Regions from separate parts of the Homo sapiens genome. Here region 1 is linked to region 2. The links are contacts of gene promoters, found by promoter capture Hi-C in blood cells and fetal thymus (Javierre and others, 2016). All regions are on one chromosome and are shown on one strand. Each heading gives the region's core, a stretch centred on a gene start or on the middle of the fragment in contact. The rest is flanking DNA. Distances are from core to core; before and after follow the strand shown. Region 1 has its middle 5.0 kb from the start of RBM25. Region 2 holds the start of IRF2BPL (interferon regulatory factor 2 binding protein like).

Region 1 (3,875 bases), core at 17-2,516, 4.0 Mb before region 2:
CATGTTCCATATTCAAGATTTTTTTTTTTTTTTTTTTTTTTTGAGACAGAGTCTTGCTCTGTCACCCAGGCTAGAGTGCAGTGGCACGATCTCAGCTCACTGCCAGCTCCACCTCCCGGGTTCACGCCATTCTCCTGCCTCAGCCTCCCGAGTAGCTGGGACTACAGGCGCCCGCCACCACGTCTGGCTAATTTTTTTGTATTTTTAGTAGAGACAGGGTTTCACTGTGTTAGCCAGGATGGTCTTGATCTCCTGACCTCGTGATCCACCCGCCTTGGCCTCCCAAAGTGCTAGGATTACAGGCGTGACCCACCGCGCCCGGCCAACATTTTTTTTTGATGGTGACTTTCAATATATCAAAAGTTCTTAATATAGTTGGATTTGTCAATCTTTTCTGTTTAGGTTATGCTTATAGTATCTTCCTTAAGAAATCCTTCCTGTCGGGGCACAGTGGCTCATGGCTGTAATCCTAGCACTTTGAGAGGCCGAGGCGGGCAGATCACTTTTGAGGTCAGGAGTTCGAGACCAGCCTGGCCAACAAGGTGAAACCCCGTCTCTATTAAAAATACGAAAATTAGCTGGGCGTGGTTGTGGGCGCCTGTAATCCCAGCTACTCCGGAGGCTGAGGCAGGAGAATTCCTTGAACTTGGAAGGCGGAGGTTGCAGTGAGCCAAGATCACGCCACTGCACTCCGGCCTGGGTGACAAAGTAAAACTCTGTCTCAAAAAAAAGAAAAAAAAAAGAAAAAAGAAAAAAGAAATCTTTCCCTATCATGAATTCATAAGATGTTCTCAAAGTTTTAAGGTTTTATCATTGATAATTAATATGTTCATTTCAACAATTGCTAAAAAAGAATTCCATAAAATTCAACATCTATTGATGACTAATTTATTTATTTATTTACTTATTTCTTCTACAGAGTGGGACAGGGTCTCACTCTGTCACCCAGGGTGAAGTACAATGGTGTGATCATGGTTCATGCAGCCTTGACCTGTGCCCCACCATGCCTGGCTAATTACAAAAAAAATTTTTTTAGAAACAGAGTCTCCCTATGTTGCCCAGACTGGTCTCAAACTCCAAGACTCAAGTGATCCTCCTGTCTTGGCCTCGCAATGCACTGGGATTATAGGCGTTAGCCACTGTCCTCAGCCTAAGAAAAATCCCTTTAAAGATTTCCTATGTAGTCTTTTTATATTCCATATCTAATATTTCAATATCTGAATTGGGAATTTAAGTCTGTTGGTTTTGTGTGTGCACATGTGTGTATGTGTGTGTGATGCTGCATTTATGGTGGCTCATTCCTAATATTCTTGGCACTTTAATTTTTTTTTAGACAGTCTCACTCTGTTGCCCAGGCTGGAGTGCAGTGGAGCGATTTCAGCTCACTGCAACCTCCACCTCCCAAGTTCACCTGATTCTCCTGCCTCAGCCTCCTGAGTAGCTGGGACCACAGGCATGTGCCACCACGCACGGCTAATTTTTGTACTTTAGTGGAGATGGGGTTTCACCATGTGGGCCAGGCTGGTCTTGAACTCCTGAGCTCAAAGCAATCCACCTCCTCGGCCTCCCAAAGTGCTGGGATTAGAGGTGTGAGCCGCCATGCCTGGCCCTTGGCCTTTTTTTTTTTTTTTTTAAGACAGAGTTTCACTCTTGTTACCCAGGCTGGAGTGCAATGCTGTGATCTTGGCTCACCACACCCTCCACCTTCCAGGTTCAAGCGATTCTCCTGCCTCAACCTCCTGAGTAGCTGGGATTATAGGCATGCACCACCATGCTTGGCTAATTTTTTGTATTTTTAGTAGAGACGGGATTTCTCCATGTTGGTCAGGCTGGACTCAAACTCCTGACCTCTGGTGATCCGCTTGCCTCAGCCTCCCAAAGTGCTGGAATTACAGGTGTGAGCCACATTGCCCGGTCAATTTTTTTTTTTGACTAAGTCTCGCTGTGTCACCCAGGGTGGAGTGCAGTGGTGCCATCTTGGCTCACTGCAACCTCCGCCTCCTGGGTTCAGGCAATTCTCCTGCCTCAGCCTCCCAAATAGCTGGGACTACAGGTGAGTGCCACCACACCTGGCTAAGTTTTGTATTTTTAGTAGAGACAGGGTTTCTCCATGTTGGTCAGGCTGGTTTCAAACTCCTGATCTCAGGTGATCCACCCGCCTCAGCCTCCCAGAGCGCTGGGATTACAGGCGTGAGCCATCATGCCTGGCCTGCATTTTTAAATTTTAAGCTCACATTTGATATCAGAATCCTGAAGCCTAAATTAGGGATTCTTTTCTCCATGGGAACTATGTTTGCTTCTGTCAAGAGCCTAGGACTATTACTAACAAGGGAGCACTTTAACATCCTTTCAGAGTCCTGACTTAACTTGGTAAACTTCAGTTACTCCACCTTGCTGGGTAGTCCAGCCTTGATCTCTAGATTCTGTGTTAATGTGCTTCCTCTCTCTATCTTCTTCTCTCTATATACACATATATATTATATATATTCACATATATTATATATATAATGGCATTATATGTATTATATTTATATATTTTATGCCATTATATACTATATAATGGCATTGTATATATATATATATTTATGTATGTATATGTATTTATGTGTGTGTATATATATATATATATATATATATATATATATATAATGATGGCCATGCATACACACGCAAACACACACACACACACAAGCAATCCTCTCTCCTCATGATTGAGACTACAGGTGTGTGCTACTGTGCTGGGCTCCAGTTTCAATTTTTGAGAAGATCTGCTCAGTTCCAGCTAAACAACATTTTTCCTGGTATGCTGCTGTTTAGTTGGGTCAGATGTGGCCAATGAGAATAGGGTCCAGGCCAGGTGTGGTGGCTCATGCCTGTAATCCCAGCATTTTGGGAGGCTGTGGCAGGTGGATCACCTGAGGTCGGGAGTTGGAGACCGGCCTGGCTAACATGGAGAAACCCCACCTCTACTAAAAATACAAAATTAGCTCGGCATGGTGGCATGTGCCTGTAATCCCAGCTACTTGGGAAGCTATGCCAGGAGAATCGCTTGAACCTGGGAGGCGGAAGTTGCGGTGAGCCGAGATCATGCCATTGCATTCCAGCCTGGGCAATGAGAACAAAACTCCATCTCAAAAAAAAAAAAAAGAAAAAAAAAAGAATGGTGTCCAAATGCACACAGAATGTAATATCCAAATTAATTATCTACAGTTTCCTTAGCAAGGATTTGTAAGAAAAAAATAGAAGGAGGATAACTGGCATCGCAAATGAATGGCTTGGCTTGTTCTCTACAAGTGGTATATAAGTGTATCATTTAGAGTTCTTTCTGTGTAAGGAATAGAAAACTCAACTCAAACTGATTTCGGAAAAGTAATGTATTGGGTTACATACTGATAAGCCTAGAACAGCTGGCTTTAGGAGTAGCTGAGCCAGCCGGGCTCAGTGTAATCCTGGCTTTTGGGAGGCTGAGGTGGGAGAATCGCTGGAGCCTGGAAAGTTGAGGCTGCAGTGAGCCGTGATCATGCCACTGCACTCTAGCCGGGACAACAAAGGGAGACCCTATCTCAAATAACAACAGCAATAACAAACCAAAAAACAAACAAAATGAATGAATGAACCATTTTCTCAACTGATATTGTCAAAAATCTCTCACCCTGTCTTACTTCTGCTTTCTTCTGTGATTTCATTCTCATCCCCATCTATTCTAAGCTTAAATCCTCCTAAGCTTAAATTGAAAAAAAAAAATCAATTTAAATGAAAAATATAGAGACCCCTCCCCTTCTTTTTAGGATTATTCCTGAAAGGATGAAGCAGTATAATGTTCCAGAGCACGAACTCAGGAACCAGACTGGCTCACTTACTATTTTTGTAGCCTT
Region 2 (4,247 bases), core at 1-2,500:
TGCTGCTGCTGCTGTTGCTGTTGCTGTTGCGCGGCGGCGGCGGCGGCCGCCGCTGCTGCCGCCGCCGCCGCCGCTTCCTTAGCCGACAGGGCCACTGTCTTGACCCCGACGGGCGGCGGCGGCCCGGGGGAGCGGCCGTCCTGGAAGCAGCCGTGCGCCCGCTTCAGCTGGCGCGCTGTCTCGATCACGAATTCGATGCGATCAGCGCCCTCGTAGTTGACGCAACCGCGGCATACGGGTTCCGAGAAGTCCCAGATCATGGCCCAGGGCATGCGGGGCAGGTCGCACAGGTAGCAAGATTGTCTCCGGGACGAGGACACCTGCGCCGCCGACATGATGCCTGCCCTGGGGAAGGTAGGCCCCCGCCCGGGCTGTCTCCGCGGCGCCTTCTCCTCCGGGAGGACTGGCCGGCTGGGGAGGGAGTCCGACTGCGGGGGAGGGAGGAGGGGGGGCGAGAAAGTTCTGCCCCAGGGGCTGGAGGGAACGCGAGTCTCCACCGCCGGCGCAGCGCCTCGCCGTGGGGGCTCCACCGCCCGGGCAGCGGACGGGTTCAGCCCTCTCTTCGCCCCCACCTCCTACTGCGGTTGACTCGTCGCGAGGGGAGCTCAGGCGCCTTCTTCCTGGTGCTGCAGACTTGGGCTGGAAGCTCCCGGCCCGAGGGGAGGGGGCGAGGGTGCCCGGTGGTGGCCGCCGTTGCCTCTTGGCCCCCTCCCCGGAGTGGCTGGTGCGTGGAAGCTCGAAAGGGGCTGTCTCTTCCTCTCCCCGGGGACCCCCCTACGAGCTGCGTCCTCTCCCCGACGGGCCCCCTGGGGCGAGGGCCAGAGGGTTCAGTGCCACCCGGTGCCCGGGTCCAATCTTGCTGAAGCCGCTGCTTCCCCGGAGGACCGGGGGAGGGGGTGGCAGCCGAGAAAGGACCTTCTCCCCTCCGCAGCGTCGGCCGTTCTGCTGGCGGCGACTGGGTTTGCACCCCGGAGGGAGCCGCCGCGGCCACTGCTTCCAGGACGCACGAGAGCAGAGGAGAGGAGTGCACGCACGCAGGCTCCCGCCGCCCCCAGGCCTGGCCGGCGCCCGGGCCGCCGCGGCTGGCGGCGCTCACGTTGGCTGCAGGGCGCTCGCGCGGCGCCTCGGCCCGGGTCGCATCCCTTCCCGCTCGTGCTCACGCTCGCCCGGAATGTGGGGTTGTGATTGTTACTCTACGTTCCGGAGGCGCGTCTCGGCGCTCCTGCTCCGGCTGCGGCTCGCGCTGTCCCCGGCTTGGCCGCGCGGGATGCCGCCCGGGCGGAGCGCTGACGTCACCGCCATGCTCTGCACCAGTTCTTCCCCCTCCCCTTTACACTTCCTCTGTGGAGCCCACTTGTTGCTCAGGCAAGGCGCATGCGCGGCAGGACGCCCAGATTCCTCCCAGCCGGCCCCTCCTCCGCGCCTCCGCCCTCCCCTCCCCCCTCGCCGTGTGTGTACAACAGCTGAGGCCCGGCGAGCTAATGCTGGAAGTCCAGAGCTGGGGGTGGAAATTAAACAGACGATGACCTTTCCTTTCCCTGCCGGGCATTCCCAAGTAAAAACGCATTTAAGAACCACTAGCGTCGTTTCCGATCCCTGCTCCCCACCCCACCCCCAAGCCTCGGCAGTGAATTTAAATGTCCTGTTTCAGGATTTTTCGCCGTGAATTTCGTATAAGGTATTAACCATTTCATCTGCGGTTGAACCTTATCCCCCCCGGCATGGATGTTAAATTCATCGCCACCACTGATGCCGAAGCACCTGCAAAATTAGCTGTTTTCCAATCTTCCAGAAATTGTCTTTTCTATTTGTTTTTGTGCCCTGATCTAGGAACCCGGGCTTCAACGATAGAGCTAAATGAATTCAGAGTGCGCTACCCTTCCCCCCAGCCGCACTTTAAAAATTTTGGCTGAACGTCTGAAGAAGATACGAGCACCCCGAGGCCTTTAAGGAAAACAGGCAACTGGCTGCGCACAGCTGCAGTTCAGGGCAGGGAGGGGGAGGGGCCGGAGAGGCCAAACAGGTGAGTGTTTTTTCTAGAGTTTGATTTTTAAAAGGTGGAGGCAGCATTTAATAATACTGATACATTTTTGTAAAGCACAGCCGCAGTTTTCAAAGTTCTTTCTCAGGCGCTGTGATCTCACTCCATGTTGCCCCAGAAGGCGGAACAAGGCCGTGATTTTTTTTTTTTTTTTTTTTTAAGACGGAGTCTTGCTCTGTCGCCCAGGCTGGAGTGCAAAATGGCGCGATCTCGGCTCACTGCAACCTCTGCCTCGCAGGTTCAAGCGATTCTTCCGCCTCAGCCTCCCAAGTAGCTGTGATTACCGGCACCCGCCATCAGGCCCAGCTAATTTTTTGTATTTTTGTAGAGACATGGTTTCACCATGTTAGCCAGCTGGTCTTGAACTCCTGACCTCAGGTGATCCTCCCGCCTCGGCCTTCCAAAGTGCTGGGATTACAAGCATGAACCACCACGCCCGGCCAAGGCCGTGATTTCTTCTGCCTTACAAGATCACTGCTCATCAGTATTGCTTATGGCACGATGGATATGTTGGTCATAGCTCTAGTTGGGGCATTTCTATTGATTATTCTAATTATTGGGTTTGCTTTTTTTTTTTTTTTTATTTCATGAAAACTGAGATAATCCCAGGGAAGGCTGGAGAAGGGAAAGCAATATAATGGGATTTCGGATTCTGAAGTGTGGCCCACCAGATTGAAATTTCCTCTCCATCACTAACTGGCTCTCCACCCTTAAGCTAGTTACCCACAAAATCTCTCTTTTCCATGGAAAAGAGAATGGAATGATAGCTCCCAGGTTGTTAGGGTTGTTTGAGATTTCAACTTCGGTTTTTTGTTTTTTTGAGATAGGATCTTGTTCTGTTGCCCAGGCTGGAGTGCAGTGGCACACTCGCGGCTGGCAGCAGCCTGACCTCCCAGGCTCAAGTAATCCTCCCACCTCAGCCTCCCTAGTAGCTGGGACTACAGGCATGTGCCATTACACCTGGCCAATTTTTTTGTATTTTTGGAAAGGGATGGGGTTTTGCCGTGTTGCCCAGGCTGGTCTCAAACTCCTGGGCCCAAGTGATGCACCCACCTTGGCCTCCCAAAGTGTTGGGATTACAGGCATGAGCCACCTCACCCGGCCTCAATTTGTTTCTTGTCATAAGAAGAGATAACGCTTACTTAGACTTGCCGTGGGACCTTAGTAAACTAGGTGGCTTTACTTGCATCACCCTTAATATTATCTACATTATTAAGGGGATATTATCTATAGTATTTTGTTGTTGTTTTGAGACAGAGTCCACTCTGTCACCCAGGCTGGAGTACAGTGACGCAATCTCAGCTCACTGCAACCTCCACCTCCCAGGTTCAAGCAATTCTCCTGCCTCAGTCTCCCAAGTACCTGGGGATACAGGCGCCCGCCACCACACCCAGCTCATTTTTGTATTTTTAGTAGAGACGGACTTTCACCATGTTGGCCAGGCTGGTCTCGAACTCCTGACCTCAGGTGATCCTCCCGCCTCAGCCTCCCAAAGTGCTGGGATTACAGGCATGACCCACCGTGACCGGCCTATTACAGTATTAAACCCTTAATATTATCTACAGGGTAGATTCTTTTACCTCCATTTTACAAACCAGGAAAGTAAAGAGGCTATATAACTTGCCTACAGCCATTAGTGATGGGGCTGGGATTTGAATCCAGTAAATCTGATTTGAGGTGTCTTTGACAAGCTCAGGCTTGCAGAGGTGGTTTGGGGTGCTCAAAATTCCCATCAGCCCCAGTTGATTTGGTGTTACATACAATCTTACGTAAGTACTATGCCAATACACCTTCATAACCAACCCCCAGCCTCCCCTTCCAAGCGCATTTGTACCACTGAGTTCTATATACAGAAGTTGTAGATCTGTCACTACCAGACTGTAACTTAAATACACCATACAGAATGGAGAGCAGTGTTGGACTCACAGTTAGTGTTAGTTATTATTAGTATTGATACTAGTGTTGGTACTATTGCTGGTTGACATGTGACAGTACTTAGTAAACTGCATAAATTGTGAGGATCACTATTATCACTCTTATTACTAGTAATTGCAATAAAGTTCAGTGGAAGCAACAAGAGATACTTACTTTTATTTTGACACTTGACTTCCAGAGCCTGTTCCCCTATCCAACCCTCCCCAGAGCCCCAATCTCCCACTCATTCTGGGGCCCCTGAGTGCAAAGGAAAGGCGAGTTTTTAAGGACA

The links. The method cuts DNA at HindIII sites, captures the fragments that hold promoters and counts their contacts. A CHiCAGO score of 5 or more calls a contact.
Region 1: a contact is called between a fragment that was not itself captured here and the fragment with the promoter of IRF2BPL in region 2, in 1 of 17 cell types (neutrophils). The highest score is 7.1, in neutrophils.

What each region holds. Positions count from the first base shown.
Region 1 is chr14:73,051,552-73,055,426 of GRCh38, forward strand. No RefSeq gene overlaps it. Among named protein-coding and RNA genes, the nearest start is that of RBM25, 5.0 kb to the right of the region's middle. The HindIII fragment of the contact is 4,879 bases long and covers 1-3,706 here.
Region 2 is chr14:77,027,458-77,031,704 of GRCh38, forward strand. It overlaps IRF2BPL (interferon regulatory factor 2 binding protein like), which reads right to left and starts at 1,251. Exons shown (of 1, transcript NM_024496.4): 1 at 1-1,251. The coding sequence starts at 335. LOC107984638 (a long non-coding RNA gene) reads left to right here and starts at 11. Exons shown (of 4, transcript NR_190002.1): 1 at 11-354; 2 at 1,831-2,023; 3 at 2,204-2,279; 4 at 2,370-4,115. LOC105370579 (a long non-coding RNA gene) reads right to left here. Exons shown (of 2, transcript NR_169510.1): 2 at 4,102-4,247. RefSeq lists silencers at 381-880, 1,001-1,210, 1,411-1,540 and an enhancer at 2,304-2,824. The HindIII fragment of the contact is 11,624 bases long and covers 1-4,247 here.